Regions from separate parts of the Homo sapiens genome. Here regions 1, 3 and 4 are each linked to region 2. The links are contacts of gene promoters, found by promoter capture Hi-C in blood cells and fetal thymus (Javierre and others, 2016). All regions are on one chromosome and are shown on one strand. The core of a region is centred on a gene start or on the middle of the fragment in contact, and the rest is flanking DNA. Distances in the headings are between cores, read along the strand shown.

The links. The method cuts DNA at HindIII sites, captures the fragments that hold promoters and counts their contacts. A CHiCAGO score of 5 or more calls a contact.
Region 1: a fragment that was not itself captured here is called in contact with the fragment with the promoter of CD5 in region 2 in 11 of 17 cell types (naive CD8 T cells, activated CD4 T cells, non-activated CD4 T cells and 8 more); the score reaches 16.0 in naive CD8 T cells.
Region 3: a fragment that was not itself captured here is called in contact with the fragment with the promoter of CD5 in region 2 in 5 of 17 cell types (total CD4 T cells, naive CD4 T cells, non-activated CD4 T cells and 2 more); the score reaches 8.5 in total CD4 T cells.
Region 4: a fragment that was not itself captured here is called in contact with the fragment with the promoter of CD5 in region 2 in 2 of 17 cell types (naive CD8 T cells and total CD8 T cells); the score reaches 7.1 in naive CD8 T cells.

Annotation. Positions count from the first base shown.
Region 1 is chr11:60,925,443-60,932,561 of GRCh38, forward strand. It overlaps TMEM132A (transmembrane protein 132A), which reads left to right. Exons shown (of 11, transcript NM_178031.3): 2 at 1,762-1,976; 3 at 2,199-2,417; 4 at 3,187-3,518; 5 at 5,068-5,217; 6 at 6,247-6,442; 7 at 6,542-6,685. Among named protein-coding and RNA genes, the nearest start is that of TMEM132A, 4.5 kb to the left of the region's middle. The HindIII fragment of the contact is 232 bases long and covers 4,606-4,837 here.
Region 2 is chr11:61,098,508-61,105,820 of GRCh38, forward strand. CD5 (CD5 molecule) reads left to right here and starts at 3,982. Exons shown (of 11, transcript NM_014207.4): 1 at 3,982-4,108. The coding sequence starts at 4,054. The HindIII fragment of the contact is 6,487 bases long and covers 1-6,226 here.
Region 3 is chr11:60,896,143-60,902,777 of GRCh38, forward strand. It overlaps PRPF19 (pre-mRNA processing factor 19), which reads right to left. Exons shown (of 16, transcript NM_014502.5): 4 at 6,598-6,635; 5 at 6,441-6,514; 6 at 6,261-6,323; 7 at 5,357-5,398; 8 at 5,153-5,227; 9 at 4,712-4,787; 10 at 4,440-4,549; 11 at 3,007-3,162; 12 at 2,720-2,789; 13 at 2,399-2,484; 14 at 1,959-2,129; 15 at 1,704-1,809. Among named protein-coding and RNA genes, the nearest start is that of PRPF19, 7.1 kb to the right of the region's middle. RefSeq lists an enhancer at 2,995-3,520. The HindIII fragment of the contact is 961 bases long and covers 1,999-2,959 here.
Region 4 is chr11:60,857,187-60,864,410 of GRCh38, forward strand. No RefSeq gene overlaps it. Among named protein-coding and RNA genes, the nearest start is that of PTGDR2, 4.8 kb to the left of the region's middle. RefSeq lists silencers at 6,950-7,224, 7,091-7,224. The HindIII fragment of the contact is 7,101 bases long and covers 934-7,224 here.

The DNA of each region.
Region 1 (7,119 bases), core at 3,472-5,971, 170 kb before region 2:
ATGGGAGTCCGTGGGAGTCAGGCTAAGAGCATCTTGTAATTATGGAGGCAATGGAGTAGGAGGCGAACCTGAAGCCAGTGGCTGCCCCCAGAGAGCAGTGGTCACTTGTTACGCTTGGGGCAGGGGGCAGGGAGAGCCTGTCAGTCATATGCTCCTTGGTGGGGAGGGCCAGGAAGGAGGTTGAAACCAATTCCCCCACCCCCACCCACAGTCCAGCTGTGGGGCTGAGAGGGAGCTAGCTGTGGGGTTGCTTTCAGCCACCTGCTCCCCATCCCGAGGGACGCCATGGGAGTCCTAATAGAGAGAGGAGGAAAACCTTGTCAAATCCATTATGCAGCAGCAATAATGCCTGCTCCCTCCAGACAGCACTCCACAGTTTACACAGCCCTGTCCTGTCCACAGTGCCACCTAATGCTCCTGCCCCTTTTACAAGTGAGGAAACAGGCTTCAAAATGTTAATGCCTGACCCAAGTTTCATCAATTTAAATTCAGGTCTCCAGGCTCCCAGGAAATCCTCTCTAGGGAGCGCTTCCTAGTTTGGGGGAATTCCAGGATGAGCAAGACAGGGTCCCTTGTTTATAGGAAGATTACTAATTCAGAGGAGGCACCCAGGGTTGCAAAAGACAGGAGACTGGTGGGAAGGTGAGTAACCAAGGAGGGCTTCCTTCAGAAGGAGGCAGTATTCACTCATGGCCCTGAATGAGGAGGGAGGTGCCACCGGGCAGAGCAGAGGAGAGGAGGTGCGCTCCAGGGCATGAAGCCTGCAGGGTGCACCGTGGCAGTGGAGAGTGGAGAGAGAAGTGGCAGGTGGAGACGCCGGATGGTCTAGTGGCTAATACCTGGGATCAACCCCCAGCTCCTTCACTCTCCAGCTGTGGAACCACAGGCAAATACCTTAACCTCTCGGCCTCATTTTCTACATCCACAAAATGGGATTCATCATAATAGAACCTGGTTCACAGAATTATTACAAAGACTCAAAGAGTTCATATACATACAGTATTTAAATTCTCACCTGCATATAGCATTCACAAAATGCTAATTATTATTATTAGTGCTCATAGTTAGAGCAAACCAATATGGCTTAGTGCTCCTTTGTCCTTCTGATGATTGACTATTTTGACTGTCTTCCCCAGGCTCCTGGTCCCCACCCCACCCCCAGGGCAAGCAAGTGCCTTCACAGACCTCTTCAGCACCTTCCGCGCCCGCCCATCCCACACTTGCACTCGATACCAGTCGGTTCAGGGAAGAAGGGAGCAAGCTTGGAAAGATGGTGCAGGTTGCCATGGCAATGATGGGGGAGGAGGGGTGGATGCCCAGCAGAGCCTGGCCAAGGATTCAGGGCAGAGAAAGCTCACTTCATTACCATATTTTACTACACTGGCCCAGTCTGCCGACGGTTGCACCCCAGAAGTGCCTTGGTATCAGAGGCGAGTAGATGGAGGGCAGGAGTTGGGGAAAAGGAGACATTGAGAAGGCTGTTGGCGAGAAGAAGGCCAAGGTCTGTGGAAAGTAGAAGGAATAGCTGGGAAGCATCCAGTCCTGGACTCAGATTCGAATCCTGGCTTTGCTACATACTACCTGTGTGAGGCTCTTTAAGCCTCAGTGACCTCATCTGTGAAATGGTGGTGAGAGGGGAAGGGACATTTACAGCCCTTTTCTCCCTCCCTTGCCCACAACTACTGTGCCCCAGCATGGCACCCGGGTCAGCCCCTGCCAGCTCTGGAGCTGTCATCATCTCTCCCTCTTATGCCTCTTCAGTGGACTGTGGCCAGGCTCCCCTGGACCCTGTCTACCTGCCGGCAGCCCTGGAGCTCCTAGACGCCCCTGAACACTTCCGTGTGCAGCAGGTGGGCCACTACCCACCTGCCAACTCCTCTCTGAGCTCCCGATCTGAGACCTTTCTGCTCCTACAGCCCTGGCCCAGGGCCCAGCCACTTCTCCGGGCCTCCTACCCACCTTTTGCCACTCAGCAGGTAAGGAGGGGGCACCGGGGACTCTCAGGCTAACAGGACTCAGGGCCTGAGGTCTGCTGGGTACAAATTGGGAGCCTTCCCCAGCCCCGGCTGTGCTCCCCATATTCCAGAGGGGGAAACTGAGGCCCATAAAGGTTCTCTTCTGCCAAGCTGGGATCCCATCTTCCTAGATCTTCCCCTCCCAAGCTCCTCTTTTGTTAAGCCCTCTCATTCTCCCTCCAGGTGGTCCCCCCTCGAGTCACTGAGCCCCACCAACGGCCAGTCCCATGGGACGTGCGGGCCGTTTCAGTGGAAGCGGCTGTGACTCCAGCAGAGCCCTACGCCCGGGTTCTCTTCCACCTCAAAGGGCAGGATTGGCCACCAGGGTCTGGCAGCCTGCCCTGTGCCCGGCTCCATGCCACACACCCTGCCGGCACTGCTCACCAAGCCTGCCGCTTCCAGGTGAGTAGACAGGCCCCACCTAGGCTGGTCCTGCTGCAGCTGCATCAGCCAGGTGGTGGGCCCGCGGCAGAGAGGAAACCCCCACTCCTGGGAAGCGCGGGGGTTGTGGACCACCCGACTCCATTTCTGCCCCCACTAGCTTTCAGTGCTGTGAAAAGGTTATTTAGGGCCCCAGAGGGAGTTCAGTCCTTGGTGTGTGACTTTGAGTAAGTAACTTAATCTCTCTGAGATTCAGTTTCCTCATCTGAAGAATGGGGTGTTAAGAATTCCTACCCCATCTGGAGTTGGAGTAAGGAACAAGTGAGATGAATGTAAGGATAGCTTACGGCAGAGTAATCAATCAGCCAGTGTGTTTGCATTATTAGTAGTGTTACTTTTATAATTGCTATTTCCACTATTTTGGAGTCTAGCACAGGAATCCATGGGAGAGGCGTCTCTTGAGCTTTAGGATTCTGAGAAGAAGACTGGATTCTAGGCAGGATAGTCCTGGGCTTGGTTAGGGTAAGGCCCTGGGATTGGCTTACTTTGTAATGAGACCTATCCCAAGGGCTGAAGAGTGGTCTGCGGACATGCTCTGAAACCTAGACCTGGTTTGAAGCCCCAGCCAGGTTGCTGGTTTGCTGTGTCACTCAGGCTGTGTCTCCGGCCCATGCTGGGCCTCCCTTTCATGAGCCCCTCCAGCTCTGGGTTTCCTGCCATGGGTGCTGAGAATCCTGTTCCTCGCCCTGCACCCACCCCCATGCCAATTACTGCTGTCGTGTCTTCACAGCCATCCCTGGGCGCCTGCGTGGTGGAGCTGGAGCTTCCCTCGCACTGGTTCTCACAGGCCTCCACCACACGGGCCGAGCTGGCCTACACGCTTGAGCCTGCAGCTGAGGGCCCTGGGGGCTGTGGCTCCGGCGAGGAGAACGACCCTGGGGAGCAGGCCCTCCCAGTGGGGGGTGTGGAGCTGCGCCCAGCAGACCCCCCGCAGTACCAGGAGGTACCTCTGGACGAGGCTGTGACTCTGCGGGTGCCTGACATGCCAGTGCGGCCCGGCCAGCTCTTTAGTGCTACCCTCCTGCTTCGGCACAACTTCACAGCCAGCCTCCTGACCCTGCGGTGAGCACCAGGCCACGGGGATGGGTGAGGGTGGGAACCTCTGTGGGAAGACTAGGGACAGGTACCTGCTCCTCCTGGGGTCCTTGCTGGAATCCTTGACCTCTGCAAAACATGTGTCCACCAAACTAAACTCCTTCCAGGTAAAAAGCCATGACTGTGCTGGTAGGAGCCCACCATGGGCACAGCCCTGGAATTAGAGTCAGAAGTAGGAAGCTGCCCCTTCCCCTGGCACCTCCCTGAGATTCCTTTGTCCAATGGGGCTAACGGTCCACCTTCAGGGCAGCTGCAAGTCTCCAGGGAGGGGAACCCGCAAAGGGCTTAGAGACTGCAGTACCTAAGTGTGAGCTCTTGCTCCAGTGCTCCAGAGAGGGATATTTGCCCCAATCACGTTCACCTACATGCTGTCCCTCCTTGCCACCCTCGCCGTAGGAGTCTAGCCTTTGGACAGAGCTTGCTCTTCCCCATAGGAAGGCCCTGATTCTTTGTGTCCTTTTCCGTAATAAGTTCCCCCAAAGCAGCCCCCACCCACCTACCCAGTTCACCCGGCAAGGGCTTGCAGAGTATGACTTGCTTCTGGAGTCCAGCGCAGGAATCCATGGGAGAGGCATCTCTTAGGCTTTAAGATTCTGAGAAGCCTGAGTTCTAGGCAGGATAGTCCTGGGCTTGGTTAGGGTGAGGCACTGGGACTTGCTCACTTTGTAATGATATCTTTCCTGAGGATCGAAGAGCGGTCTGTGGACATGCTTTGAAACCTAGACCTAGTTTCAAGCCCTGCCTGGGTTTGTGCATGTCCCGTCTCTGTGTCTCCCCATCTCCTACGCCCTCCTATGCTCACTCTTATTAAGCAGATCTTTCCTAGACACTTACAGCCTGCCAAGCCCTGTGTCTTCACTCTGCAGATCCAAACACGAGCAAGGGCCAGTCCCTATCTGGCAGAAAGGGGCCCCAGTGGTAGGGAAGGGAGCTGGATGGGCATGAATTGGATTAGAAGGCATGTGGGTGTGTAAGCACTGAGGGAGGTTCAAAGTGCGGTGGGAGCTCAGGTGAGTGGGTGCAGTAAGGGGGAAATTCATCCCACCACTGGAAAAGCTTTCTAAAGGAAATGGTCTGTGAGTTGTTGGAGGCTTAAAGCATCAGCAGGTAAAGTAAGAAAGGGCAGAGCAGGCTGAAGGCACAGACTGGGCAAAGGCTTGGAGTCACGAATGGGTGCCGTGTGTGTGGGAAACTTGTGTGTAGCTGAAGCAGAGAGTGCATGGAGAGATGTCACAACCGAAGTTAAGGCTGGACCAGACCCTGGAGGGCCCCCAAATGCCCGGCTAAGCTTTGACCTTATGGGCAGTGGGGAGGCGTAAGTGGTCTTTGGGTGGGGGAGAGCTGTAAGGTGTGAGCTGCACTGAGGCGGGGTCCTTCTGGGTTGGAGGATGGTGAAGAGGAGATTCAGACTGGAGCCAGGGAGGTCAGATGGCTTTGGCTCCTTGTCTTTCCCCTTCAATCCAGCCCACAGTTCAGCATGCACCTTGCCAAACTGAGCCTATACTCTCTTCCCCAGGATCAAGGTGAAGAAGGGGCTGCATGTGACAGCCGCCCGCCCAGCCCAGCCCACACTCTGGACTGCCAAGCTGGACCGCTTCAAGGGCTCCAGGCACCACACCACCCTCATCACCTGCCACCGTGCTGGGCTCACAGAGCCAGATTCCAGGTGGGCAGTTTCCCTCCACCCAGGGGGCAAAGGAGGGAGGGCTGGTTATAGAGTGCAGTTGAGCAGATTTGGAGGCTGCCATGCTGCCTCTAGATCCCCAGGTGAGCAGACCCAAGGACAGATTTTTTCAAGGAAGCAGCACAAAGCAGGCATAATCCATTCCTTCATTCATTCATTCGGCCACTATCTTCCCAGCCCCAGCCATGTGCCAGGCATAGCAAGTGTCTGTGAGTCTTATTCTAAGAGATGCCAACCAATCCTGTGCCCCAGGTAGAGCCCTCATAGCCACTACTCCATCCCCCTGCTTCCACCAAATGATCCTTTCTCTGGGCCGTTCACATTCCCCCAAAAAGCCCAGCTGCAGTTCTGCGGTTGTGAACTCTTCTTATTCATGCCCTGAGCCTGGGTCAAGGCCATGGACTCAGTAGCCCCAGTTCGAATTCTGGTTCTGATGCTTTTGGGATGGGCAAAACCTTGGGCAAGCCAGTTAACATTCCCCTACCCAAGCCTCAGTTTCTTCACTTGTGAAATAGGAATAATAATGCATCCCTTAGCATTTTTGAAAATAAAATACAGTGCTACATATCAGGCACCCAGGACGGTTCCCAGCACATAGGTTTTTGTTTGATCAAAGGAAGCTTATCATTCAGAGGGTCAAGTGTCTGGTCCTGGGACCTGGAAGTGAATCTCCCGCATGCCACCTCAGTGGCTGTGGAAAGCGGAAGTCTGGGGGAAGCGGGCCCGGGCAGGCAGGGGAGTGAGCCACCTTGCCAGGTGGGAGGTGGTTAAATGGCTTCATGGATCTTAGAGAGGCCAAGAGTGGGTCAGAGTTTGGGGTCTAGAGCGAGGATGCTTGGGTTTAGATCCCAGCCCCGCTACTTTTTGCTGTGTGGTCTTAAGTGAGCTATGTAACCTCTGTGCCTCAGTTTCCTCCTGTGTAAAATGGGGATAATCATGAATGCAGGAAGTGCTGAGGCCATGCCTGGCAGCTAGCAAGCATTTGGCTTCTCTGTCTCCTTTGGCCAGCAGTCCCCTTGAACTGTCTGAGTTCCTATGGGTGGACTTTGTGGTGGAGAATAGCACTGGTGGGGGCGTAGCGGTCACTCGCCCCGTCACGTGGCAGCTGGAGTACCCAGGCCAGGCCCCTGAAGCAGAGAAGGACAAAATGGTGTGGGAAATCCTGGTGTCTGAGCGGGACATCAGAGCCCTTATCCCACTGGCCAAGGTAAGGAGACCTCCATCTCTGCCTGGGAAGGCTGGAGGCCAAGTCCCAGGAGCCCCATGAGCTGAGGGGCCTGGGGCTGAGCCCCTCCTCCACCCCCAGGCTGAGGAGCTGGTGAATACAGCACCACTGACTGGAGTGCCCCAGCATGTCCCCGTGCGCCTTGTCACTGTGGACGGCGGGGGGGCCTTGGTGGAGGTGACAGAGCATGTCGGCTGCGAGTCTGCCAACACACAGGTCCTGCAGGTGAGTGGCAGGTGCCCAGCTCATGTGAGTCTGCATTTGTGTGGGCACAGTTACGCACACACACCTTTCCTCCTTCCTCATGTGGGTCCCCAAGAGAACAGCTTCTTCTTGAGACGAGAAACCTCATGGGAGGAACCACAGCTTCAACTTCTTTTGTTCCAGCCACCTCTCTCCCGAGTCAAGTAACCCTAACAGCCCCCCGACCTTAGACACTTTCACGCTCATTATTGCACTGGCAAGTGCGCTGGCCTGAGAGAGTCGAGAGCACATACTCTGGGATCAGAAAGTTTTAGTTTGAAACACATCTTTGTTGTCAACCAGCTTTGTGATCATGGGCTGGTCTCTTAACCTCTCTGAGCCTCGTTACCTAAACTTTAAAATGAGAACATATCTTCGGGTTGTTGTAAGAATTAAAAGCACTTTAAGACAGTATT
Region 2 (7,313 bases), core at 2,732-5,231:
TAGTTAAAGATCGACCCCTGACCTAATCTGTTATGTTATCTATAGATTACAGACATTTTATAGAAAAGCACTGTGAAAATCCCTGTCCTATTCTGTTCCATTCTAATTATCAGTGCATGCAGCCCCCAGTCATGTACCCCCTGCTTGCTCAATCGATCATGACCCTCTCAAGCAGACTCCCTTAGAGTTGTGAGCCCTTAAAAGGGACAGGAATTGCTCACTCAGAGAGCTCAGCTCTTGAGACAGGAGTCTTGCTGATGCTCCCGGCTGAATAAACCCCTTCTTTCTTTAACTTGGTGTCTGAGGGGTTTTGTCTGTGGCTTGTCCTGCTACAGGTCTAAGTGGAATCTAAGTGGAGGCATCACTGAGCCAGCCTCTCCAGCCCAGGGATGGGGAGGCCCCAGGCCCTAGTGGACCTGGACCAGTGATCACGTCCTTGAACTACTTCCTACCTGCCTGGGGTGGCCCAGAGTACAGGAAGCCCAAGGAGCCAGGAGCTTTCTCATCTGGGAGCACAAAGGATGTGAGGAAAAAACGGAACCCAGCCCAGCCCAGGGAAACACAGGGACTTTCCCCTGCCCCGGGCTTCCCATCTTCTTTGCAGAGACCCTGCCTCTTCTTCAAGGGGGATGATTCCAGACCCTCTAAGAGCAACAGGGACACGGAGCTCACATACATACCCCACATCAACATGGAGATCACACACCTCAACACGGAGATCACACACATCAACATGGAAATCACACACACATATCGAATGGGGATTACACACATCAACGTGGAGCTCATACATACACCCCAACATGGAGATCACACCCACAACACAGAGATCACACAAGTCAACATGGAGATCACACACACACATCAACATGGAAATCACACACACACATCAACATGGAAATCACACACATCAACATGGAGATCACACACACACATCAACATGGAGATTACACATACATCAACATGGAGATCACACACACATCAACATGGAGATCACACACACACATCAACATGGAGATCACATTCGCACACATCAACATGGAGATCACACACACACATCAACATGGAGATTCACACATATCAACATGGAGATCACATTCACACACATCAACATGGAGATCACATTCACACACATCAACATGGAGATCACAAACACACATCAACATGGAGATCAAATTCACACATCAACATGGAGATTACACACACATCAACATGGAGATCACATTCACACACATCTACATGGAGATCACATTCACAACACAAACATGGAGATCACACACACATATATCAAATGGGGATTACACACACATCAACCCCAACATGGAGATCACACACACAGCACAGAGATCACACATGTCAACATGGAGATCATACACACACATCAACATGGAGATCACACACACATCAACATGGAGATCACACACACATCAACATGGAGATCACACACACTCGTCAACATGGAGATCACATTCACACACATCAACATGGAGATCACACACACACATCAACATGGAGATCACACACACACGACATGGAGATCACACACACACATCAACATGGAGATCACTCACACACATCAACATGGAGATCACACACACATCAACATGGAGATCACATTCACACACATCAACATGGAGATCACACACACACAACATGGAGATTACACACACACATCAACATGGAGATCACACACACATCAACATGGAGATCACACACACACAACATGGAGATCACACACACACATCAACATGGAGATCACACACACATCAACATGGAGATCACACATACATCAACATGGAGATCACACACACACGACATGGAGATCACACACACACATCAACATGGAGATCACTCACACACATCAACATGGAGATCACACACACACATCAACATGGAGATCACATTCACACACATCAACATGGAGATCACACACACACAACATGGAGATTACACACACACATCAACATGGAGATTACACACACAACATGGAGATCACATTCACACATATCAACATGGAGATCACATTCACACACATAAACATGGAGATCACACACACACATCAACATGGAGATCACACACACATCAACATGGAGATCACACACACAACATGGAGATCACACACACACATCAACATGGAGATTACACACACATCAACATGGAGATCACATTCACACACATCAACATGGAGATCACAAACACACATCAACATGGAGATCACACACACACATCAACATGGAGATCACATTCACACACATCAACATGGAGATCACAAACACACATCAACATGGAGATCACACACACACATCAACATGGAGATTACACACACATCAACATGGAGATCACATTCACACACATCAACATGGAGATCACACACACATCAACATGGAGATCACACACACATCAACATGGAGATCACACACACACATCAACATGGAGATTACACACACATCAACATGGAGATCACATTCACACACATCAACATGGAGATCACACACACACATCAACATGGAGATCACACACACACATCAACATGGAGATTACACACACATCAACATGGAGATCACATTCGCACACATCAACATGGAGATCACACACACACAACATGGAGATCACACACACACATCAACATGGAGATTACACACACATCAACATGGAGATCACACACTCATCCACATGGAGATCACACACACACATCAACATGGAGATCACACACACATCAACATGGAGATCACATTCACACACATCAACATGGAGATCACAAACACACATCAACATGGAGATCACACACACACATCAACATGGAGATTACACACACATCAACATGGAGATCACATTCACACACATCAACATGGAGATCACACACACACATCAACATGGAGATCACACACACACGTCAACATGGAGATCACATTCACACACATCAACATGGAGATCACATTCACACACACAAACATGGAGATCACACACACATATATCAAATGGGGATTACACACACATCAACCCCAACATGGAGATCACACACACAACACAGAGATCACACAAGTCAACATGGAGATCATACACACACATCAACATGGAAATCACAAACACACAACATGGAAATCACACACACATATCAACATGGAGATCACACACACACATCAACATGGAGATCACACACACATCAACATGGCGATCACAATCACACACATCAACATGGAGATCACACACAACACAGAAATCACACACGTCAACATGGAGATTACACACACATCAACATGGAGTTCACACACACATCAACATGGAGATCACACACACTCAACATGGAGCTCACACATACACCTCAACATGGAGATCACACAACACAGAGATGACACACACAACACAGAGATCACACAAGTCAACATGGAGATCTCTCTCTCTCTACACACACACACACACACACACACACACACACACACACACACTGGCACAAGCCCAGCATTCATGGCGCAGCCATCTCTTGTACTTGCTAGCAAAACACCACCTGTGGAAAGTCAGCTCAAACTTCCAACCTCATCCCTCACAAAGGGGGAATGGAGGGTTTGGTTTTGGCTTTCACTGGAGTCTGCAACAAGAACTGGCATCATGCTGCCCATTTCCCGCCTCTCCCCACCCAGACCCCTGCCTCAGGGACGCCTGTCCTCAGCCCAGCCCTCAGCTGCAGCCAGGCCTTCAGCCTCCGTAACCCCCGCTCAGGGTCCCCACCCCCTGCAGCCCTGTCCCTCCAGGATGCATGGCCTTGTCCTGTGTGGGGGTGGCCGAGAGCACTGCCCCAGCCCTGGGTACCTTGGGCAGGAAGCTGGCAGAGGCCAGGGCTGCCATTCAAACAGGGGCAGGTGGTTTTGCCAGGAGGAAGTTGACAGTTCAACTTCAAACATGGGTGACGCAGGCCCCACACTGCCTGCTCCCCGTCCCACCCCTCCCTGAGCACGCCACCCCGCCCTCTCCCTCTCTGAGAGCGAGATACCCGGCCAGACACCCTCACCTGCGGTGCCCAGCTGCCCAGGCTGAGGCAAGAGAAGGCCAGAAACCATGCCCATGGGGTCTCTGCAACCGCTGGCCACCTTGTACCTGCTGGGGATGCTGGGTGAGTACCCCTCCCAGGTGTCCTGCGAACACCCGGGCTCGCTCCAGTGCAAGGAAGGAGTTCCCAGTTTTACCCAAGGCTGACTCTGGGATCCACATGTCAGCCCTCTGGAGCGTTGTGGAGATTTGGGGCCACTGGGATCCCTGCCTGCCCCCACTAAGCCGCAGCTTGGCCCTCTGTCCTGCATGTCCCACCCGCCAGGAGCACAACCTTGCCTCTCTCATGCGCTGTTGAGAACCCTGCTTTACCCTTCCAGTGCAAGAGAGACTGCAGGGGGGACCCGCATTTGATGGGGCCCAGACAACTTGATTCCTAGGCTGAGTTGGATTTTAGCAGAGCATTCAGGCCTCCCTCTGCGAGGTCCCCCACTGACAGCCCAGCCTTTACTTGGTCGCCTCCAGAGACATGGAAACTCGCCGTCTCCGAGGCAGCTCTGATGATGCTCTGGACAGACAGTGGGCCGAGGCAGGGTGGAGCCGCCTCTGAGGACGATGTCTGAGCAAATGTCAAGGACTCATAGCGGAAGTCCTAGGCCCTCTCATGCCCAGTCCTGGGTCAGTCCCAGAGGGGCCCAGCCAGGCCGGCTGGGATGAGTACACGCTGGGCCTGCTCTCACTCCAGCCCTGGGTTGTAAGCCCAACCCTGTGTGACCTCGGATAGGTCCCCAAGCCTCTCCAGGCCTTGATCTCCCCATTTATGAAATGTGGGGGTTGGGGGTGTGAACTGGATGAGGCCTGACCCACTTCCTGAGGATTTAGAAGGTCTGGCAGGGTGACAGAGGTGCGTGACTCTGGGCTGGAAACAGGAGGATGCGAGCAGCTTCCAGGCTGGCAGGGAGAGGGTCCGGAGGCCTTGCCTGCCTGAGCAGGGAGCCTCAGCAGCCTTCTAGGGAAACCGGGTGTGCAGGTGTGAGTGTGGGGGAATGCATGTGTGTGTGTCTGTGTGCATGTGTGTGAGAACTGTGTGTGGGGGAATGTGTGAGTCTATGTGTGTCTGTGTGAGTCTGTGTGTACGTGTGTGAGAACTGTGTTGGGGGGTAATGTGTGACTCTGTGTGTGAGTCTGTGTGTGAGTCTCTGGGCATGTGTGTGAGTACTGTGTGTAGGGGAATGTGTGAGTCTGTGTGTGAGTCTGTGTGTGAGTCTCTGGGCATGTGTGTGAGTACTGTCTGGGGGGGAATGTGTGAGTCTGTGTGTGAGTCTCTGGGCATGTGTGTGAGTACTGTGTGGGGGGGAATGTGTGAGTCTGTGTGTGAGTCTGTGTGTGAGTCTCTGGGCATGTGTGTGAGTACTGTGTGTGGGGGGGGAATGTGTGACTCTGTGTGTGAGTCTCTGGGCATGTGTGTGAGTATTTTGTGGGGGGGAAAGTGTGAGTCTGTGCGTGTGAGTCTGTGTGTGAGTCTGTGTTCATGTGTGTGAGAACTGTGTATGGGGGAATGTGTGAGTCTGTGTGTGAGTCTGTGTGTGAGTCTCTGGGCATGTGTGTGAGTACTGTGTGGGGGGAATGTGTGAGTCTGTGTGTGAGTCTGTGTGTGAGTCTGTGTGTGGGAGTCTGTGCGCATGTGTGTGAGAACTGTGTGTGTGTGCTTTCATGAGCACAATGCGGCCTCCAAAGGCAGGATTATCTCCCCAACACATGTGACAATGGCACCTGTGCACACATGTTCACATGGTTCTTCTCACATGTAACAACAACAGGTACAAAATGCCTTCTGTCCCAAAGTAAGAGGCCTGAGACAGACCTCTGGCTGGCTTCAGGGACCCTGCTAAGGAGGGACCAGGCCCTTAAACCCCCCACCTGCTCCTCACCTCTGGCCTCAGACTTCATTGAGATAGGGCGGCTCCCAGCTGAGTATGGGAACCCGTGTCCTGCTCTAGGGCCCTCCCAACTGAATCCCATCATGGGTGAGGCTCCTGATGGCACCAGGCAAGTCCCCTGGCCCAACACAGGCCACAGTCAGGAAGACTTGGAGGTAGCCCCTTCACCCCAGTATGGGGACCTCCTTGAACCCCAGGAATACTCAGTTCCCAGTGTCTGAGTGAGCCGGTGGGTACCAAGCATTCCCTTTGTTCAGTGGGTAACGGTTTACAAAGCACTTTTAAAGCCATTTTCTGCTGCAAGCTTCACAACAGCCAATGAAGTAGGTGGGCCCATTGGCCCCATTTTACAGTGGGGAAAAGCGAGGCCCAGGAAGGCCGAGTGCAAACCCAGGGTGCAGCAGCTGGTGCACAGCCGAGCTGACCCCAGCCCAGCATTCCTGCCTTCACAGAGGCCCCTCCCTTAGCTAAAAGGGAAGGCCACCAAAGGCACTTCCGTGTGCAGGAAAATGGCCCTGGGACACAACCTCCACCAGCAGAGATACAGCCACCAGAGCTGGGGACACCAAGGGCCAGGGTTGCTGGAGTCAAACAGTGCAGGCACCCTTTGAGCCATTCCAAGGAGAGAGGCAGCAATGCCAGAGCCCTGGGGACACCACAGCCTCCTGGCTGGCATCGGGGCTTGGGGACCTTTGGATCCTGAGGCATGAAGATGCCCCCAGCAGGCCTGGGTGCTAGTGACAGGCCAGGGCTTCCCACAGTTGCTCCCCTCTCAGCCCCAGCCTGCCTGGACAGCTGCTGGCAGTGAGGCGGGGAAGCGGCTCTAACACAAACTGCACGTCCCTGACTGGCCTAGCCGATGCGACTCTGAAAGCCAGCACTGGGACGTGGGAAAGTCATGGACTCTGCAGTTTGAATTCCAGTCTGCCACTTACCAACTGGGCGACCTTGGACTAGTTCTGTAAGCCTCAGTTTTCTCATCCGTAAACTGGGTGCAACAGTACCTCATAGAGGCTTATAAGGATTCAATGAATCAATGCACACAGAGCTTAAGTACAATCCTGGCATATAGTATAGTAAGTACTCAATAAACAATAATAACAGCAACAACTATGATTATTATTATTACCAGGGTCAGCAAGAAACAATGCGAGGTAGGAGCCAATGGGGAGGAGGGTCTTGCCAGAGGCCTGCACAGCCGTCAATCTCTCTACCCCTCAATCCTCTTGCACAGGCTATTTATTCACTAATTCATTCATTTTTCATCTACAAATATTATTGAGCATCTCCTGTGCATCCAGCTCTGTGCAAAACACTGGGGATACAGGGACCAAGGCAGGAGTCCCTGCCCTCAAGGATTTGATCAGCTAACAGGAGAGCTGTTAGAGA
Region 3 (6,635 bases), core at 1,229-3,728, 200 kb before region 2:
AATACAATAAAGCTAAGTGCAATAAGACAAGGTATGCCTATACTATACTTTTTTTGGTATTAAATATACTCTTCCCACTTATAAAAAAAAGTTAACTGTAAAACAGCACCAAGCAGGCCCTTTCAGGAGGTATCCGAGAAGAAGGCATTATCATCATAGGAGATGACAGGTTTATGCATGTTGGTGCCCCCGAAGACCTTCCGGTGGGAAAAGATGTGGAGGTAGAAGACAGTGATGTTGGTGCTATGGTTAGGCTTTGTGCCGCCACCCAAATCTCATCTTGAATTGTAGTGCCCATAATCCCCACGTGTTGTGGGAGGGAGCCAGTGGGAAGTAACTGAATCATGGGGGTGGTTACCCCCATGCTGTTCTCATGATAGTGAGTTCTCACGAGATCTGATGGTTTTATGAGGGGCTTTAGCCCCTTTGCTCAGCATTTGTCTCTCCTGTTGCCATGTAAAGAAAGACATGTTTGCTTTCCCTGCTGCTATGACTGTAAGTTTCCTGAGGCCTCCCGAGTCACTGTGAGTCAATTAAACCTCTTTCCCTTATCAATTACCCAGGCAGTTCTTCATAGCAGTGTGAGAACGGACTAATACAGTTGGTGATCCTGATCCTGTGTAGGCCTAGGGTAATGTGTGCTTGTGTCTTAGTTTTTAACAAGAAAAGTTTAAAAAGTAAAAAATAAAAATAAAAAAATTAGAAAAAAGCTTATAGAACAAGGATGTAAAGAGAGACAATATTTTTGTACAGCTGTACAATGTGTTTTAGTTTTAAGTTAAATGTTATTACAAAAGAATCCATTTTTTTAAGTTTATAAAGTAAAAGTCAGCTAAGGCTTATTACTGAAGAAAAAGTTTTTTATGAATTTAGTAAAACCTAAGTGTACTGTGTTTATAAAGTCTACAGCAGCGTACAGTAATGTCCTAGGCCTTCACATTCACTCACAACTCACTCACTGAAAGCAACTTCCAGTCCTGCAAGCTCCTTTCATGGCAAGCACTATACCAGTGTACCATTTTAAAAAAATCTCTTATACCTTATTTTTACTGAACCTTTTCTATGTTTACACTTGTTTAGATACACAAATACTTACCATTGTGTTATAATTGTATTCACTACATTTAATATGCTGTACCGGTTTGTAGCCTAGGAGCAATAATAGACTATACTAAGGTTATAGCAATAGTCTTGGCGTGTAGTAGGCTACACCATTTAGATATATGTAAGTTCACTCTACAATGGTCGCACATGACGATATCACCTAACAAGACATTTCTCAGAACATATCCCCATTATTAAGTGATATATAAACTGTATAAGCTTCAATCATCTGACCCTTCTGCAGATCTAATATAATGTGGGCCTCCCGTGCATATGCACGTAATTAAAATGGCTCTCCTCCTGTCACTGTCTAATGTTCATTTATTTTAGATTCAGTTATCAAAACTTCAGAGGGACTTTTCTCTCCCTTTAGTAACCTGCCCAATGCCACAGGGCATGGAAGTGGCAGAACAAGCACTAGCATCTACTGCCATGCAGTCTGACTCAGTTGCTTCCTTAGTCATAAAGCTCTGCCTCAGGTGGTAACAGAAAGCTGCTTAGGTAAATTCATGCAAGCCCTAGAAATTCCTAACCCAGTGAGGCTTCCCTCCGGGCCTGGGCACCTAGAGAGATCCCAGGAGCCCAGGACCAGCCTCTACCTGTAAAGTGAAGAATCTCCGTCCATTGTTTGCAGATGTAGATCTGGACATCCGTGCCCCCAAGAGCCAGGTAGGTACCACTCTGGTCAAAGATCAGTGACTTTACCTGCCAGAAATAGAAAGAGAGAAGGTCACACAAGGGGAACAGAAACTATGGGGCAGTTGCGGATAAGCAGAAGCAATTAGATTAATTCAATAAATAATTGACAAACAAGGAGACACAATGGAAAGCTGGGCGGAGGGGGAAGGGCACACCTCAAAGTTGTTATCCAGCTGCAAAGTCTTAAAGTTCTTAAGCTTGCGCAGATCCCAGAGCTTGACAGAGGAGTCATCAGCCGCTGTAGCCAGGTAGTAACCATTCTCAGAGAAGGCGATGCTAGTGATGGGGCCCGAGTGGCCAGGGAAGTTGGCCACATTAGTACGTTCCTACAGTGGCGGTGGGTAGTAAAATACGTCACCCACAGATCATGAGAGGAAGAAAATGGGGCTCACCAAACTCCTACCTGAGATGTCCCTCACGTCCTTCCAGGAAGGACAGCCAGCGGGACCCCCCAGACCACACCATCATATCACACACGCACAGCCAGTGTCTCTCCACCTTCAGGGCCAGGTGCCACAAGCACCTAATTAGCACTGCATTGTCACAAACACTCCCTCTGGCCCTGGGCCTCAGATGGAGGCCTACCATGTCCTACCTTCAAGTCCCAGATCTTGATCTGAGAGTCCATGGTTCCTGTTCCAAAGATGAGTCCGTCAGGGTGGAACTGTGCACAGGTGAGAGCTGTGGAGGAGGGAAGAGAGACCTGTGGTCAGAGCCCACCAGGGAGAGAGACTAAGAGCAGCAAAGGTAGGTTCCTTGTTCTTCACATTCCTCAGTGAACCCAGCACAAAGCCCGCACTAGACAGGTGCTCATGGTAAATATATCTTTAGAACAAATAAACAAATGACTAAATAAAATGTAAAAATAAATAATAAACAGCAAACAAAAAAGCTGAGTGCCTATGAGGCAACTTACAGCAGCCGGAGGTCTCATCTGTCACCTTGGTGAGCACACGCCCTGTCTGGATGTCAGAGAAAGCCCAGTACTGGGGAAAAAAAAAGAGACAATGGAGTCAGTGAGAAAGTGGGTCCCAGGTTCTGGTGGCCCTTCAGCAAGACAGAGCCCCTGGTTTGGCAAACCCTGGCAAACATTCTCCTTTGAGGTTCTGGGGAACCAGCTGGGGTGGGAAGATGTTCCTGCCACCCAGGATGTTCAAGCTTGGGGACCAGCAGGCCTCTCCAGGGCACTGGCTGGGACCGCACCTGATCATCGGAGGAGCTCAGGAGATAGTCGCCAGTGGCATGAAGGCTGAGGCCTGTCACAGCACTCTCATGGGCCCGAACCACCTGTACACAAGAGGCATTGGGGACCGACCAAATCCTGATAGTGGCATCGGGGGAAGCAGAAAACACCAGGTCCTACAAGGAAAACAAAGACAGAATATCAGAGTCAGAAAAGAGATACAGACCAAAACAATCTTATAAAACGGGGCTGGGGATGCCCACAACTGCCAACAATTGCTTCTCCTTTCAGCTCTGCCCTCCCTGGAACCACCTATCCACCCAATGGTGCCCAAGACAGCCAATGGTAAACGCTATTAAAGTGCTAACTCATACAGCATCAGGGCTTGTGGAGGCGTCCTCGCCATCTAGTGGTAAAAAGGCTAACTGCAACAGAGAGCAATTTTCCCATTTCCAGGACCAAAGGAAAAATGTAGCTAGTACAATTGAGGGACTGAATTTTTTATTCTATTTCATTGAAATTTAAATAGCCACATGCAGCTAACTGCTACTGTACTGTATGGCACAGGTCTGAGCAGTACTGGGACTGGAAGGGGCTGCATGGCTGTATTTCAGTGCATTCCACTTTTATGGATTTCCAGGGTAAGTTAATTTTCCAAAAGATTTGGGGCAGGGAGAGAATTTCGCGTCACTCACCAATTTTTTGTTTAGTTAGGATATTAAAAGCCATAAGGTAAAAATAACTACCATCTTTTTTTATCAATACAATTTCATGAGACCTAACTATTAATACCCCATAAGCAAGAAAACAGTGCTCTCAATTTGAACAAATTTAGTCATGAAAAATTCACCATGTTATTCTTATATTTCTCATTTCCCTAAGGTCCAAGGGAAATCTTGACTGCGAAGCACTAAACCAACCATGTCCTGCAGCCCCAAACCCAAACTGTCTTAGGCTTAAAATTCGAATCCCATAATATCATTAATCTGGTCCCATGAGTTACCTTTACCCTGTAAACCAGAGGTTCTGTTTACAACCTACACCACTTTCAACAGTCAACATGATTTTTACCCATCTTGGAGGATCATGGGAAAGCAGATATATCTGTCCTCCTCGTAAGTGTGAGTTGAGATTGTGTTGAGCTTTGTTTTCTGTAGTTTATATTAGGAACACTATAAGATTTTTTCTTTCCCTAATATGAAATATTTCAATGAATATGCTTGTCAAACTACACATTTCCGTTCTCTCCCTGGCTGGAAGATCACTGCTTTAGAAGGTCTCACGCAGAGTGAAGGGCAATCTCCACAACTCCAAAGTGAGCCCCTCCAAGTGCCCACTCAGGAGTCAGAGTCAGAGCTCTTTCCCAGCCCCACTTCACAGAGACAGCAGCGGGGTGAGGGACAAACAACAGCCAAGGAAAGAAGAACCAAGGGTGGCGAGGAGAACCCCTTACCTGGGAAGGGTGAAACACCACGCTGGTGACCTTCTTGGTATGGCCTTTGAGGGTAGCCAGGATTTGTTCAGAACTTTTGTCAAACACAACGACATTTTTATCCGCCCCACCTGGAGAAGACCCAAAAAGACCAAACAATGAGTCAGGCCCACCCAGGCCCTTTTGCTCAAGGAAATGCTTTTGTTCCCATGCCCATGAAGAGGACAAGGAGCATGCGCCTTCCCTGCTGCCCCTCCCCACTTTGGCCTGCCGGGCTAGGCCCAGACTCTCACCAGTGAGGATCTTGTTGGTGTCGGACGGGCAGAGGTCCAGGGCCAGGATCCCAGGAATGCTGGCACTGTGCAACCCCTTTGCAGAGAGACACACCAAACCCTGTCACGGCCAAATCACAGCAGGCCACAAAGCCACAGACCTCCCCTACTGCCATCTCCAGTCACCCATGTTCTCAGGGGAGCAAGAGTTACTTCTATTCCTTATCCATACCTCTTGGCTATCTGCCTGGTACGGTAACTCCCTCACTGCATCACTAGGAAACCCACAGCTGGGCAGAAAGAGGAGCCCTGACAACTCAGCAGCCCAGGCGAGAAACAGCACCAGGAACAGCGCCAGGAACCTGGGACAGCTCTGCACTCAGCACTCCCCATGCTGGCCCGCCCACCCCAGAAACAAAACGGGAGGGCTGTCTCCAAGACAGTGGAGACCCAGACACTCACCACGTGGGATGCCACCTGCCGGTATTTGCTGAGCTCTTCTGGCTTCACCAGCTCCTCAGGCACAGTCTTCCCTCTCTGAGAAAATGAAAAGCCCCCAAAGAAGAGCAGCAATGAATCCAAGATTCAGCCGCCCTCTCTCTCCTAAGGAGTCAACCGCCTCCCACCAGGCCAGCTCTTTCTCCAGGCTTCAGAAAGAGAACTCACCTTCTTGCGCTCCGTGGTTAGCACAGTGGCTTTGTCTTGAAGCTGGGGAAGAACAGGCTCAATGTGAGACAAATCATCTTGCAAGGAGAAAAGTACATTAGATGCTGGTCACACCTGTGCTTTCAAAAGCAGCACCAAGAACTTGCTATCTGCCAACTTCTACGTTACAGGCTTAAAGGCATTCTCTCTTCTTACTTCCATCCCAGCTTTATGAGGGGGGTGTTGATGACCTTATTTTACAGCTGAGGAAACTGAGCCTCAGAGAAGTGAAGTCAATTGCCCAAGGTCGCAGAGGTGATAAACAGCAGAGCAAGAATAGAAGCTAGGACTGTAGAGCTCCCATAGGTCTACACGCCACTAAGCCAAGGGCTCAGACACATGCTGACAATTTGAACTGCTCAGAAAGACACTAAGAAGCCCTGCAAATGAGAATCCCACTGGACTTGCAATCAGGAAGCCCAGCTCTGCCTCTCAGATGTGTCTTTCATCTGCAAAATAAGGATTATAATTCCTATCCTATTGCCCTCATAGAAAAAAAACAAGAAAATATATAAAAGTAGTTTACTATCTGCAAAGAATCTCAATAACAATAAGAGCTAAAAGGTGCACTTATCAGTAATGAAATCTTTTAAATTCCCACAGCCTGCCTATACAGTGGATATGATCATATTCTCAGTTTAGAAGCTAGGGAAATGAGACACGTAAGGGTTGGCTAAGTAAGCCAAGGTCATAAAGCTTACAAGTAGTGGCATCAAAATACAAACCCAGGCAATCTGGTCCCAGGGTCCATGCTCTGCACCACTCAACTCCCAAAAGCACAGTGATTTTAGTCACGATGGACTCCAGACAGATGGTGAAAAGTAAGGGCCCATCAGCACTCCCACCAGGTGAGAGCAGGACTTACCTTCTGAATAATCTCTGGGGTCATTCCCACCAGCTCACCCAAATCCATTGGCTCACCCGCACCCTGAAGAGAAGAAAGGTGAGGGTGAGAGGCACAGAGCACCAAAGACACCTGCATAAGGACAGTTCTGTGGGCCACTGTACACAAATGGGCTGCTGGTAAGGGAAGGGGGACACTTACCACAACACTTGGTTGGGAACTTGGCACAGCCTGGGGCACAATGAGGCCAGCCTGTGGTTTCAGGGTAGCCAGAGCTGAGAGAAAAGACGATGTTAGAAATGGGATATTACAATGCAGAACCAGCCCAGGGTGGGGGATGGCAGGGGAGAGGCTGCACCTTCTCGGGCAGCAGTGACTTCCTTGGTGAGACGGGCA
Region 4 (7,224 bases), core at 3,234-5,733, 240 kb before region 2:
CAAGCATCTTCCATTTAGGCCTAGTCTTAACGCAGAGACTAATGCATAATACGCTCTTGCTGAGAGGCTACCATCATGAGTGGAAAATGAGTAAAATGCTATGCCCTTGTGATGGGGATAATACATCTCACTGTAGCCCAATATGGCAGATCAGTAAGAGCCTTGGTGATCCAAATCATTAACAATAGGAAAATGTCCCCTCTCCTCCAGGTCAGGGAAGGCTTGATTTCCAAAGACAAATGCCTGCAGCCCTCCAGAGAACATAGGTGGATGATTCCATTCTGCATGGGGAAAGTGCCCTCTTTTCCACCCACCCCGGACACCCAACCCACTGAACCACAGACAAGGCCACGTGTGCCTTGTCTGCGCACAGAGAGTGTCAGGCTGTGGTTAAGCCCAGGGACTCTGGGGCCAGACCACCAGTGTCTGGATCTGGCACTGCCACTCCTCAGCTATGTGATCTTGGGCAAGTAACTTCACAGCAGTAAAATATGAACTTTAAATGGTGTTCCTTCTGCACAGTCCCACCCTCAAAGGACAGGGGTTGGAGCCCAGATTTATCTTTGGACTAAGAAAAAGAATCACCCCTTCCCCACCACCCCACCCCACAGACACATCTCAGCACCAGGGCATCAGGCTTGAGATAAGGCACAGCCCTTCCTCTGGATCTCAGCCCACCCTTGACCCTTCCACTGGTATCCTTGTACAGTGAACATCCTGCACAACCTCTCCTGGCCACCCTGCTGAGGTGCTTCTTTTCTGGCTAAAAAACCCTTACTCATCTGCCCCTTCTCAGTCCTTGTTTCCAGTCCTGTAATCACTGTAGTGACTCATGTCCAGCCCCAGTGCGAGTGTGTTCCTCTCTAAAGAAAACCCAGTGTGTGTGTTCTCTCTAAAGAAAATGTATTACTAAGTAAACAAAAAAAGCTACTAAGCTTAAAGTTACCAAAACAAGTTCCAGATGAGCAGGGCCCAGAGGCATTTTCTGAAGAAGAGCCGTGCCCTGCCTTATCCCATGGCTTGTGTCCCCCAGGACTGGGAGAAAGATGCAGCTGCACTCAGGCTCAGGCCCTAGTCCCTAAATTACAACCTCCTCCAAGGCTTGGAACTTAATATCAGAGGCAGTAAGAGCGGAAGTCGGGTCCCTCGCTGCCTCAGCATCACCTTCTGCCGTGGAGGAGATGAATCTGAGCCTGTCGCTTCCTGGCACACGGGACCTCTGCTGCATCTCTGCTGCCCATGGGAGCTGTCCAGATTCCCAACCTAGCATTCAAGGCCTCTCAGGATCCAGTGCACCAACCACCAGTCCCTGCACCCCCTTCCTCATGTCCACAGCTACCCCATCCTTTCTTTCCCCACCTCCATGCCTTGGCACGTGCTGCTGGGAATGCCACTTCCCCTCCACGACTCATCCTGCAGGACCTCTTTCTGAGACCACCAATGTCACTAGATACTCAGAGGATACTTACAGCATCAATGTTTAACAAATACAGCCAAGGGAGCAAAGGAATGAAGGAGGGGCAGATGGAGCCCCCAAGCATAGGCCCAGCCCACATGGGCTTTCTTCTCCCTCTAGGTGGGTTTTTTATGTTCCTTTCTGGCCACTTTAAAGAAGTCAGTCAAACAGGAAGTGAGATGCAGGGCAGGAAGCAGGGTGAGGCCTGCCCTGGGATCCTCCAGCCCCTTGCTCGGAGGCCCTCGAGCTACCCACACCCAGTAGAGGAGCAGCATGGCAGGGCCCCAAATGATACCTTGGGGAGGCCCAGGTTGAGTTCCCTGGTGCCACCATCACCCACAGGACTCCTCGCATGGCCAACAAGCCCCTCGGTGATCCAGTCCCACCCAAGCCTCCCCTGGCATTGCTGCCACTCCCTAGTGGCATCCTGTCATCAGCCAGCACTCACCACTGTCCCCTCCTGTCCTGTGCACACCAGGCTTTTTCTGTACACACCAGGCTGTTTCTGTGCCCACCAGGCTGTTTCTGTGCCCTGGCTTATGCTGTTTGTGCTCTGCTCTGGAATGCCTTTTCTTCCCTTGGCCTCTCAGTGAACTCCTATTCATCCTTCAAAACCCTGGTTAGAGGTTGCCTCCTCTGGGAAGCCTTTGCTGATTCTCTCAGACCCACTTGCTGTCCCTCCTCTCCCACATCTCCACTTCACTTGACCTGCAGCCCCCCTGTCTTCCCTGGTAACTCTTGTTCACACAACTGTTCACCACCCTCATGAGCCACCTGAAGACAGAGACTTATTCCTGTTTTATCTTCTCACCTCCAAAGGCAAGCAGAGGGCCTGACACATGAGAGGGGTCCCAACATATATTTGCTGAACAGAATGAATCTCTAAAATTGGCTTCCCTGTGCAGACCTCAAAGGACCCCAGTCCCTTGTGGTGACCCATTCTGAGACCTTTACTTTTTTTTTTTTTTTTTTTTTTTTGAGACTGAGTCTCGCTCTGTTGCACAGGCTGGAGTGCAGTGGCCCTATCTTGGCTCACTGCAACCTCCGCCTCCCGGGTTGAAGCGACTCTCTTGCCTCAGCCTCCCAAGTAGCTGGGACTGCAGGCGTGCGCCACCGCACCCGGCTAATTTTTGTATTTTTAGTAGAGAAGGGGTTTCACCATGTTAGCCTGGCTGGTCTCAAACTCCTGACATCAGGTGATCTGCCTGCCTCAGCCTCCCAAAGTCCTGGGATTACAGGCCTGAGCCACTGTGTCCGGCCCCATTCTGGAACCTTTCTTACCCATGGTCTGGTGCAATTCTCCATGGCTCTGTCTTCACCTGCAGTGGGTACAACCTTGGGGACTGATCGCTTTATAGTAGGAAGGAAGACAAGAAGGCAGAGCAGGCAGAGGCAGCCCTGGCCTGGGCTCAGGCCCACACATGTGCCAGGCAATCGTCGCAGAAACAACAGTGGTGTATTTGTTTCCTCGGGCTGTCAGAACAAACTACCACAAACGTGGCAGCTTTAAACAACAGAGACTTATTCTCTTACAGTCTGGAAGCCAGAGTCTGTAATCAGATGCCAGCACTTCCTCCGAAAGCTCTAGAAAAGGAGACTTTTTGGCCCCTCCAGCTTCTGGTGGCTCCAGGCGTCCCTTGGCTTAGGGCTGCATCACTGCAATCTCTACCTCCTCTTTACCTGGCCTTCCCCCTCCCTCTTTTCATGTGTCTCTCACAGAGTACTGGTCACTGGACTTAGGGCTCATCTGGATCATCCAGGGTGCTCTCATCTTGAGATTCTTAAATTGATTACATCTGCAAAGTCCTCTTATCCAAATAAGGCCACATTCACAGGTTCCAGGGGTTAGGTTGTGGACATGTCTTTTGAGGGCCACCATTCAACACAGTGAAAGCAATAATAGCTTCTGGGTACGGTGGCTCATGCCTGCAATCCCAGCACTTCGGGAGGATGAGGCGGACAGATCACTTGAGGTCAGGAGTTCGAGACCAGCCTGGCCAACAGGCAAAACCCCATCTCTACTAAAAATACAAAAATTAGCCAGGTGTGATGGTGCACGCCTGTAATACCAGCTATTCAGGAGGCTGAGGCAGGAGAATCGCTTGAACCCAGGAGGCAGAGGTTATGGTGAGCCGAGATCCTGCCACTCCACTCCAGCCTGGGTGACAGAGCGAGACGCCATCTCAAAAAAAAAAAAAAAAAAAAAATGAAAACAGTAATAGCTAACACTTATGGGGCACTCACTATGTGCCAGCGTAAGGCTGAAACTTGCTCATGGATGAGCTCATCAAATATTCACGCACCCCTCTGAGTTAGGTACCACTATCATCGTCACTCACCAAGGGGAAAACTGAGGCTCAGAGAGCTTAAGCAACCCTACCAAGCCTGCTCAGCTGGGGAGCAGAGGAGCTGGAGTTCAGAGCCATGTGGTCCAGCAGCAGAGCCCAGCTCTTCGCAGCTGATGAGATTCTCTGAGGTTCTTTGTTCCCTCAGGGGAAGCAGGGCTGCCTGTCTTCAGTTAAATGCGCTCCCACTGGCCTTCTGGGAGCATCTCTGCGGTGAGCACGGTCCATACATACACACACAGCTGGCGCTGCTCTTGGGTTACTCTGCAGGCCCCGGAGTGAGGCAGCCTGCTTCCTGCTGGTTTCCTGGCATGCATGGATCCCCTGAAAGGGGATTTTGTCTTTCCAGCCTAGAGAGGCTCCATCCTCCTCCAGTGCCTTCCCTAGGCTCTATTCACAGAGGAGACAGGGCAAGCAACTGATACTTACACGGCGCCCCACTTAGGTGGACTGTATTCTTAGTTCCATTTTATAGATTAAGAAACTCAAGTTCCAACTGGGTGCGGTGGCTCACGCCTGTAATCCCAGCACTTTGGGAGGCTGAGGCGGGCGGATCGCAAGGTCAGGAGATCGAGACCATCCTGGCTAACACGGTGAAACCCCGTCTCTACTAAAAATATAAAAAATTAGCCGGGCATGGTGGCCAGCGCCTGCAGTCCCAGCTACTCGGGAGGCTAAGGCTGGAGAATGGTGTGAACCGGGAGGCGGAGCTTGCAGTGAGCCGAGATCGCGCCACTGCACTCCAGCCTGGGCGACAGAGTGAGACTCTGTCTCAAAACAAAACAAAAAAAAAAAAAGAAAGAAAAGAAACTGAAGTTCCATTAAAAAAAAATTCATAGGTTAAAAACAGAAAGAAAGAAATGAACAAACAGGTTTACAAACAGGCCAAGTGGCCAGGTGTGGAGGCTCATGCCTGTAATCCCAGCACTTTGGGAGACAGAGGCGGGCAGATTGCTTGAGCCCAGGAGTTTGAGACCAGCCTGGGCAATATAGCAAGACCCCATCTCTAAAAAAAAACCCAAAAACCAGAAGCCAAGTGGATAAAGCCAAGATTCCAAGTCAAGTCACCTCCATCTGACCCTCTCTCTTTATCAATAAAAATAATCGTGGTTGTAATGGCTATCGTGTTCAAATGATGACCATGTGCAGACCCTGTTCTGCCTGCTTCACATGGATTATCTCATTTAATCCTCAGAGCAACCCTACAATTTAGGTGCTATTATAACCCCATTTTATAGATGAGGAAAGCAAGTCACAGAGCAGGGAAGGGACTTTTCCAAGGTCTCCAGTGGGTGAGCAGAGGAGCTGGGATCCTCCCAGGCTGATAATTCTTGGTGTCCATGAGTCTTTGCAAGAACGTAGAGTCGTAACCGAGGGCTCAGGGCGCTCGTGCGCGCTCTCTCTCTCTCTTGGATACTCTGGTACCCTTTTCCCAAAGGTGTTCTGCCCTTGGCCCTGAGGAAGCCCCCCTTCTCTTTCCCTGCCCATTTCCAGCACCTTGGGAGACGTACTTTCCCCATGGGTCCATGACCAGTGGGGAAACACCTCTCCGTGTCTTATGTAATTGCATCCCCACCATAATCATTCTCATCCTTACTCTCCAGATAGAGGAAAAAAGCCGGTAAGTGACTTCCCAGGGCCCTTGTGCTCATAAACAGTGAGCACCAGGCAAAATCCAGGCCTCTCAAAGACTCCAGCTGATTCTCTCTCTGGCCCCTAAAAGCCCCCGTTAGGAAAAGTTCTCTCTTATGATAGCAAATAAATGCAGAAGGAAGGGTAGAGTTAGAGAACCACCACCCACTTGGCAACCACACTAGCCAGTGAACATTTGAAGAGGAGCAGGATTGATTACATAGTCTCAAAGTATCTCCCTGTAAGATACTCATGAATTACAAAGAGAAACATCATTACTTTATGGTGGAGAAACCTGGCAGACACCACCTTATCCAAGTGATCAAAGTCACATCAGCAATAACAGGACAAGCCAGCGGGGTGTGCCTCGAGATACTGAGAAGGACACAACATCACTTCTGTACAAGCTGAATTGTATCCCCCCAAAATTCATATGCGAAATCCCTAACCCTCCACCCCCATCCCTCAGAATGTGACTGTATTTGGAGATAGAGCTTTTAAAGATGTGATTTAAGATTGAGCCCCTTAAGGTGGCCCTAATCCAATCTGACTGGTGTCCTTAGAAGAAGAGGAAATTTGTTTTTGTTTTTTGGGATGGAGTTTCACTCTGTCTTCCAGACTGGAGTGCAGTGGTGCCGTCTTGGCTCCCTGCAACCTCCACCTCCCAGGTTCAAGTGATTCTCCCACCTCAGCCTCCTGAGGAGCTGGGATTGCAGGTGTGCACCACCACACCCAACTAATTAGTTTGTATTTTTAGTAGAGATGGGGTTTCACCATGTTGGCCAGGCTGGTCTCAAACTCCTGACCTCAAGTGATCTGCCCACCTCGGCCTCCCAAAGTGCTAGGATTACAGGCGTGAGCCACCGTGCCAGCCAGAAGAAGAGGGAATTTGACCATTCAAAGAGACACCAAGGACGCACCAGCACAGGGGAAAGACCACGTGAGGACTCAGTGAGAAGACGGTTGTCTGCAGGCCAAAGAGAGAGGCCTCAGGAGCAACCAGACCTGCCACCACTTTGACCTAGCACATCCAGGCTCCAGAGCTGTGAGAAAAAGACTTATTTAAGCCACTCAGTCTGTATTTTGTTACAGCAGCCAAACGGACTAATACAAGGCCAAGATGCATCAACTAAATCTAATGTAACCAGGAGAAAACACCAGACAAACCCAAACTGAGGGCCATTCTGCAAAATCATCCGGCTGTACTAAAAAATGTCAAGGGTATGAAAGACAAAAGAAGATAGAAGGGCGGTCCCAGATCAGAGGAGGCCAAGAGGCACGCCAGCGAGACTCTGAGCCTGGATTGGATCCTGCAGACTCCCAAAACCACTGTACTCCTTTGCCATGAAAGTCACAGTTAGGACAGTCGGCAGATGTTGAGTAATTGTCAGAGCAGGAGCACCGTCATCTCGGACAAATACTGCCACTTTAAGCTCCAGCTCCCTTTCTAGCCTCATGCATTTCAAGGAAATCACTTCTCTTCTAACTACAACAGCCAGAAAGAGCAGACAGTAAAATACAGATAAGACAGCTCCGGCACAGAGCGGGGTGGAGGGAAGGTCTCTTTGGTAACTGCCAAACTTCACCCTCACACAATGAGCCCCAGTAAAACAGTGGGCCTTAATAAGCACATTCCTTTTCCTTCAGGGGCACTAAGATAGGGAAGCTAAAAGCAGACTCTGGGGATATGCCTGTAGCTGCAGAAAGATATATGGGAACAGACACACAACTCTCCCTCCCAGATACGCACAGCAAAGAGACACAGGAGCAGTCCAAGCCTCTGATAAACTC